2 separate regions of the Homo sapiens genome follow, and region 2 is linked to region 1. Evidence: promoter capture Hi-C in 16 types of primary human blood cells and fetal thymus (Javierre and others, 2016). All regions are on one chromosome and are shown on one strand. The core of a region is centred on a gene start or on the middle of the fragment in contact, and the rest is flanking DNA. Distances in the headings are between cores, read along the strand shown. Region 1 holds the start of MIS18A (MIS18 kinetochore protein A). Region 2 overlaps LOC124905008 (a long non-coding RNA gene).

The links. Contacts are between HindIII fragments. The CHiCAGO score rates a contact against its expected background, and 5 or more counts as called.
Region 2: a fragment that was not itself captured here is called in contact with the fragment with the promoter of MIS18A in region 1 in 3 of 17 cell types (erythroblasts, M2 macrophages and M1 macrophages); the score reaches 6.2 in erythroblasts.

What each region holds. Positions count from the first base shown.
Region 1 is chr21:32,277,179-32,280,758 of GRCh38, reverse strand. It overlaps MIS18A (MIS18 kinetochore protein A), which reads left to right and starts at 1,710. Exons shown (of 5, transcript NM_018944.3): 1 at 1,710-2,078. The coding sequence starts at 1,745. MIS18A-AS1 (MIS18A antisense RNA 1) reads right to left here and starts at 1,554. Exons shown (of 1, transcript NR_046576.1): 1 at 1-1,554. RefSeq lists enhancers at 1,297-1,516, 1,460-1,959, 1,960-2,461. The HindIII fragment of the contact is 2,727 bases long and covers 1,442-3,580 here.
Region 2 is chr21:31,737,052-31,741,003 of GRCh38, reverse strand. All of the region lies in intron 1 of LOC124905008 (a long non-coding RNA gene), which reads right to left. Among named protein-coding and RNA genes, the nearest start is that of SCAF4, 6.9 kb to the right of the region's middle. The HindIII fragment of the contact is 314 bases long and covers 2,160-2,473 here.

The DNA.
Region 1 (3,580 bases), core at 461-2,960:
GCCACTTACTTAAAGAACTCATGTGGATTGTATCAATGTTGTACCAGAGATATTATGCTTGAAAACAACAGTCCAGGAAGGTCAGGCTTGGCTCTACAAAAGTAGAAGGGGCAAAGTATGGTGAGGCATGCCTGTAGTTCCAGCTACTTGGGAGGCTGAGGCAGGAGGATCGCTTGAGGCCAGGAGTTCGAGACCAGCCTGGGCAACATACTGAAACATCATCTCTGAAAAAATAAAGAAAAGAAAAAAAAAAGCAGAAGGAAGGAAGGGAATTCTATGGGTAAAAAAAAAAAGCCTAAATTATCTAAAGCATTTTCTTCCAGTAAGAAGGTGATTAACATGAGCATGGTGTGCCAGGGTTTACAAAGTATTTTCATGAATATTAGAAAACTCGATCCTCATGAACAACTTGGTGTAGTACTGAAGAAACAGACTCCATTTACTCCATGAAGAATTAGACTCAGGGAAGGCAAACAGCCTTTTCCACAGTTCCCTACACTGTTACTACCTTGTGGAGGGAGGGGTAAGTTAACCAGGACCACTGACTCCAAAGCTTTTGCTTTTTGCTAGTGGCTGTAAGCACTAAAATTGGAAGTACATTTACATAAATAGTTTATGCAACCAAGCAAAATAGGCAGTGACTTGGGGGACACCCAGAGCGTAGTAGGAACAGAGTAGGTCCTTGCAGGTAGCTTTCTTCCCAGGTATACCACCAGACTGTCTGTGGTGCAGCTGGCTGGTTCCCCGCCAGCTTTCCCTCCTGACCTACGGTGTTTTAGGCAGAGGCTGGCTTTCTGGGGCAGCTGAGGAAATCTGTCCTTATCATCAACAAGGGATGCTTCTTCCTTGCAAGGACGAATTGTTCCTTGATCCAAGCAGCAGGGACACTTCCAGGCTTTCCAGGGGCACTGCTGCTTCCTCAACTTTTTCCTTGCAGTGACAGCCTGAGTGATCCGGGGCCCTTCCCAGGGTCTCATTCCAGGGATAGCAGTGCGCAAAAGGACCCTGTGATGAGGGACTCCTCTATCCCCTTCCTTCTCCACTTCATGGAAAGGAGGTCCCCAGGAGCCGACAAAATAGAGCAGTGGTCATCAAAAGTGGAGCTGCTTATATACAACTATAATTAGTCCACTTACAAAAAAGAAGAAAAAGGGTGGTGGTCTGGCACAGTGGCTTACGCTTGCGATCCTGGCATTTTGGGAGGCCGAGTAGGGAAGATCGCTTAAGGCTAGGAGTTCGAGACCGGCAACATAGAAAAACTCCCCCCCCCACCCCCCAAAAAAGGTTGGGCTGCCAATACTGACAGCGTGGGCACGCCTAGGAGCTTGTTAGAAATGCAGATTCTCGGGCTAACCTGCTACCTGCTGAACCAGAGTCTGCGAAGATGGAACCTGGCGATCTGCTTAAGAAGCTCGCCAGGCGGTTCTTAGACACTCAAGCTTGCAACCCGTAACTTTCTCAGTGACGCTGCCCCTCCCACGGAAAGGGGTGAATAATCCTTAGGAAGACAAGCAAACAGGTCTGCATCATCAATTTCTTCAGGCTGGAAAACCTGACGCAGGCGCAGTGACTATCACGCTTGGCCAAGGCCGCACGGCGCGCATGCGCACTAGAGGCCGCCCGCCGTCCCGCCCCCTTCAGGCTTTTGCCCCTTCTCGGCCTCCGCCACCGCTCCCCGCCCCGCGCATGAGCAGCGGCGGTTTTTTTTCCCATGGCGCTCTGGGGCGCGGGCGATTTGTAGGTAATGGCAGGCGTTCGGTCACTGAGGTGTAGCAGAGGATGCGCTGGCGGCTGTGAGTGCGGCGACAAGGGCAAATGCAGCGACTCCTCGCTGTTGGGCAAGAGACTCTCCGAAGACTCGAGCCGCCACCAGCTGTTGCAGAAGTGGGCGAGCATGTGGAGCTCCATGAGCGAAGACGCGTCGGTGGCCGACATGGAGAGGGCGCAGCTGGAGGAGGAGGCGGCGGCTGCGGAGGAGAGGCCGCTGGTGTTCCTGTGCTCCGGCTGCCGGCGGCCGCTGGGCGACTCGCTGAGCTGGGTGGCCAGCCAGGAGGACACCAACTGCATCCTGCTTCGCTGTCAGTTGGGTCGAGCCGGGCAGGGGGGGCGTGGGGTCGCCTTCTTCCAGGGGTGCCGCGCGTGGGCGGCCCGGGAGGAGGCGGGGGCTCCTTGGGGCTGCCCAGGGACTTTAAGAGCAAAAAGTCTGAGAGTGTGAGCTGTGGCAGGAAAAGGGGAGGAGGGTCACCCCTCCACTTTGGCTCTCGGGCGGTGGGTTCTTTTCTGGGGTCCCCGATCCCAGAAGAGCAGTGGTTGAATCAGCATCATCGTGAGCATTACTCAGAAACAAAGGGCGACAAAGAATAACACTTTTAAAGACCCTAAAAAAAGAGAAACAAATGGTCAACTAGACTGTAAGCACTTGAGGTGCAGCCAGTACTATTACTCCCCATAGAAATTAGCAGGCTGTTGGTGTATCAGCGGATGCCTCTACAGCCTCCAGTGATAGAGCCGCAGAGTTGACGGAACACAGTGCTATAGGGAAGAAAGGGAAGGAAACTTGCAATAAAAGCACCAACAACCCCATGAAAACTGGCGAGGAAGGAGGATGTAGCAAAAGAGTTCAGAAGAAGGCAGGAATTAGTTTCTAATCCTGGTTCTAGCAGTTACCTCTTACCTCTGTTGTTCCACTGTTCCCTCATTTTGATGTTTTTGCAGTATTTAGGGATAAAGTGGTTCACATATTTTTTATGAATTGGTGTAAGAATGGCTGTTGTTTTTGGATTGTGATTTTTCAAGATGAAGTTTTTTCTGTCTTTGAATGCCGTAAATGTTCCGATGGCAGTAATTCACCACCGGCTTATCGACGTTTCTGGAACGTTTTCCTTGGTGTAATACTGGGAATAAAGGAGCACACCAGTGTCCAGTAGTTAACTGAAAGTTGAGATTAACTCTTTGCACCTATCAAAATCAAACCAGGCCGAGCGCGGTGCCTCAGGCCTGTAATCCCAGCACTTTGGGAGGCCGAAGTGGGCGGATCACGAGATCCGGAGATTGAGACCATCCTTGCCAACATGGTGAATGAAACCCCATCTCTACTAAAAATACAAAAATTCCAGATCAGCCTCGCCAAAATAAAAAATTAGCCGGGCATGGTGGTGTGCGCCTGTAATCCTAGCCACTCCGGAGGCTGAGGCAGGAGAATCACTTGAACCCGGGAGGCGGAGGTTGCAGTGGGCCGAGATTGCGCCACTGCACTCCAGCCTGGAGACAGAGCGAGACAACGTCTCAAAAAAGAAAAAAAAGAAAAAAGCAGATTTTTGGTTAGGTAGGAAAAGCTCTTTGTTTGAATGAGATTCCCTTGTTTACATGTTTTTAAGGAATAACGTGTTTGATGTTACATCTTTCATTTTATTTGTTTGTTTCGATAGAGTGTATTTTTTGCCATGTGGGCTCTTTTCGTTGTTTTGCGTTACTTATAGAAAGACTGTTTTTGTTATTTAATTTTTATAACAATAGCTTTTAAATTTAAAACATAGTTCTAAAATAGTAGTTTAAAATTTAAAGAACTATACATTTTTTG
Region 2 (3,952 bases), core at 1,067-3,566, 540 kb after region 1:
CCGGAAAAGAGGCCGGACACAGTGGCTCACCCCTGTAATCCAAGCACTTAGGGAGGCCGAGGTGGGCAGATCACAAGGTCAGGAGTTCAAGACTAGCCTGGCCAAAATGGTGAAACCCCGTCTCTACTAAAAATACAAAAATTAGCCAGGCATGGTGGCGCACACCTGTAGTCCCAGCTACTCAGGAGGTTGAGGCAGGAAAATTGCTTGAACCCGGGAGGCAGAGGTTGTGGTGAGCCAAGATCACCCCACTGCACTCCAGCCTGGGCGACAGAGTGAGACATTGTCTCAAAAAAAAAAAAAAAAAAAAAACTTGAAAAGAGCAAATTAAATATAAAGGAAGCAGAAGAAAGGAAATAAGAGTGAAAATCAATGAACTAGAAAGTCCACAAACAATAGAGCTAATCAATGAAACCAAAAACTGTTTCTTTGGTTTTTGGAACAACAAAATAGATGAATCTCTAACCTCACTCAACAAGAAAAGAAAAAAAAGAAGATAGAAATTATCAATATCAGAAATGAAAGAGGAAATATCACTACAGACATTAAAAGGGTAATAACAGAATATCATGGAAAAACTTTATGCAATAAATTGACAACCTTTAAATGGACAATTTTCTGAAAAAAATACAAATGATCAAAACTCCCTCGAGAAACAGAAGACCTGAAGAACACTATATCAATTTTAAAAATTGATTAATATAAAACCCTCTCATAAGCAAAACTTTAGGCCCAAGTGGCTTCATTGGTGAATTCTAACAAATCTTAAGAAAGAAATAATATCAATTCCACACAGGCTATTTTAGAAAATAGAGAAGGAGGTCGGGTGTGGTGGTTCACACCTGTAATCCCAGCACTTTGGGAGGCCGAGGCAGGTGGATCACCTGAGGTCAGGAGTTCGAGACCAGCCTGGCCAACATGGTGAAACCCCATCTCTAGTAAAAATACAAAAATTAGCTGGGCATGGTGGCAGCTGCCTGTAATCCCAGCTACTTGAGAGGCTGAGGCAGGAGAATCGCTTGAACCCAGGAGGTTGCAGTGAGCCAAGATCGCACCACTGCCCTCCAGCCGGGTGACAAGAGCAAAACGCTATCTAAAAAAAAAAAAAAAAAAAATAGATAACAGGGAAGGAGAGAAGCACTTATCAAATAATTTGATGAGAGCAAGCTACCCCGACACCAAAACCATTACAAGAAAAGGAAAACAGAGACCACCAATACCACTCATGAATATAGAAGGAAATATTTTGACAGACAGAATCTTTGCAAATTGAACCCGGCAACATATAAAAAAAGTAATATCCCATAACCAAGTGGATTTTATTATAGGAATGCCAGGTTGGTTTCACATTCAAAAACCAATCACAGTAATTCATTAATATAATAGAATAGACAAAATCACATAATCATCCCAATGAATATAGCCATGGTATCTGACAACATTAACACCCATTTGTGATTTTTGTTGTTGTTGTTGTTGTTTTGTTTTTTGAGACGGAGTCTCACCCTGTTGCCCAGGCTGGAGTGCAATGGCGTGATCTCGGCTCCCTGCAACCTCTGCCTCCCAGGTTCAAGCAATTCTCCTGCCCCAGCCTCCCAAGTAGCTGGGATTACAGGTGCACAGGCGAGCGCCACCATGACCAGCTAATTTTTTGTATCTTTAATAGAGACGGGGGTTCACCACGTTGGCCAGGCTGGTCTCAAACTCCTGACCTCGTGATCCGCCCACCTCGGCCTCCCAGAGTGCTGGGATTACAGGCGTGAGCCACCACGCCTAGCCAGCATACTTCCTATTTTGTCTTGTTTTCAGTTGTGTGGGGTGTTTTTTTTTTTTTGAAATTAACAAGTTGATTTAAAAATTTATATAGAAATGCAAAGATTACAGCATAGTGAAAACAATTTTTAAAAGAACTATGTTGGAGACTTTAACTGATTTACTTGAATTACTAGAGAAATTAAGACAGTGGGCTATGTATATGCAAGAAAAGTATATAGATATATATAAAGGAACAGAGTACACATACGTGGAACTAGATCCACACATATGTGGTCAACTGATTTTCAACAAAGGAGGCAAAGTAATTCAATGGGGGAAATGATCTTTTTTTCCAACAAATAGTGCTGGAACAACTAGATATCCTAATGTAAAAAAATGAAGCTTGATATTTATCTTATCTCATACACATATATTAAATCAAAATGGATCACAGACTTAAACAAAAGTGCTAAGCTATAAAGAGTCAAGAAGAAAATAGAGGAGAACATTTCCATATCCTGGGGATAAGCAAAAATTTTTCAATATGACAGAAAAGCACAAACCATAAAAGAAAAAAGTATAAATTATATCCATCAAAATTAAAAACATCTGCTTTTCAAAAGAAAATGAAAAGGAAAGCCACAGACTGTGAGGAAATGTTTACAACACACATATCTGACAAAGGACTCATATCATTCAATAGCTTCCTATTGAAGCTTCCAAATGATCCGTTTTTTTAAAGGGCAAACGATTTGAACACTTTACTAAAGAAAGTATACATGGCCGGGTGCGGTGGCTCACGCCTGTAATCCCAGCACTTTGGGAGGCCGAGGTGGGGGGATCACAAGGTCAGGAGTTCAAGACCAGCCTGGCCAACATGGTGAAACTCTGTCTCTACTAAAAATACAAAAATAAGGTGGGCATGGTGGCATGTGCCTGTAATCCCAGCTATTCGGGAGGCTGAGGCAGGAGAATCACTGGAATCTGGGAGGCGGAGGTTGCAGTGAGCCGAGATCCAGCCACTGCACTCCAGCCTGGGTGACAGAGCAAGACCCCATCTCAAAAAAAAAAGGAAAAGAAAGTATACATATGGCCAATATACACATGGAAAATACTCAACATCAGGGCAAGGTGCCAGACTCTGGAGGAATAGTTCCTCGAGGAAGGAACTTATCTGTGTTTGGGCTTATCACAGTATTCCACACACCTAGCACAGTGCCTGTCCACAAGAGATGTACACATTTATTTTCTGAATGAATGAAACAGCAAATGTTGGACTGGCGTGGCCTAGTCCTAAAAGGTGACATTTCACTTCAGATGAGACTGGTTTTTAATACTTTCCATTTTGGAAAGAGAATCTTGGATTCCTAATCCTAAGTAAGATAGGAAGTGATGAAGAGAAATTGTTTTCCTTTATTAGTTACTCATATGCTCACTGTTGCAATCATAGCTAAGATGACATCCAGAACATTTTAGGTTTGCTGCATACTTACTTGTATGTTTACTTTTTTAAGGAGCTTACTCTTTCTGACAATAAAACTGGCCTGGTGTGGTGGCTCATGCCTGTAATCCCAGTACATTGAGAGGCCAAGGAGGGCGGATCACCTGAGGTCAGGAGTTCGAGACCAGCCTGACCAACATGGCAAAACCGCATCTCTACTAAAAATACAAAAAAAAAAAAAAAAAACCAGCCAGGCACGATGGCGGATGCCTATAATCTCAGCTGCTCAGGAGGCTGAGGCAGGAGAATCGCTTGAAACCAGGAGGTGGAGGTTGCAGTGAGCCGAGATCACCCCACTGCACTCCAGCCTGGGCAACAGAGTGAGACTCCTTCTCAAAAAAAAAAAAAAAAGTGATACATGCCTTCTGTGAGGAGTATGAAAAATGCTGAAAAATTAAAAAGAAAATGAAAATTCCCTAAAATCCCATTGCCCAACTGCCGTTGAGCTCTTCCTTCTTGGAGTTCCTGCTTTCCACACATTTCATTCCATTGTTTTGGCCCCAACAACATAAAGGGCATGAAGACAGAAGATGCACAAAAGGAGTCAGGTGGGTCCCTTGGGGATGGAGGGATCCCCATGTGGAATTCCCCAGTGGGCAGTTGAAATGCAGTTCTAAACCAGGAGAGAGTTCAGTCACATCCCTAAGTGGGGAGGAAGAAGAATCACAGAGGTGTCAGGGAAAGCTTCAGAGAGAG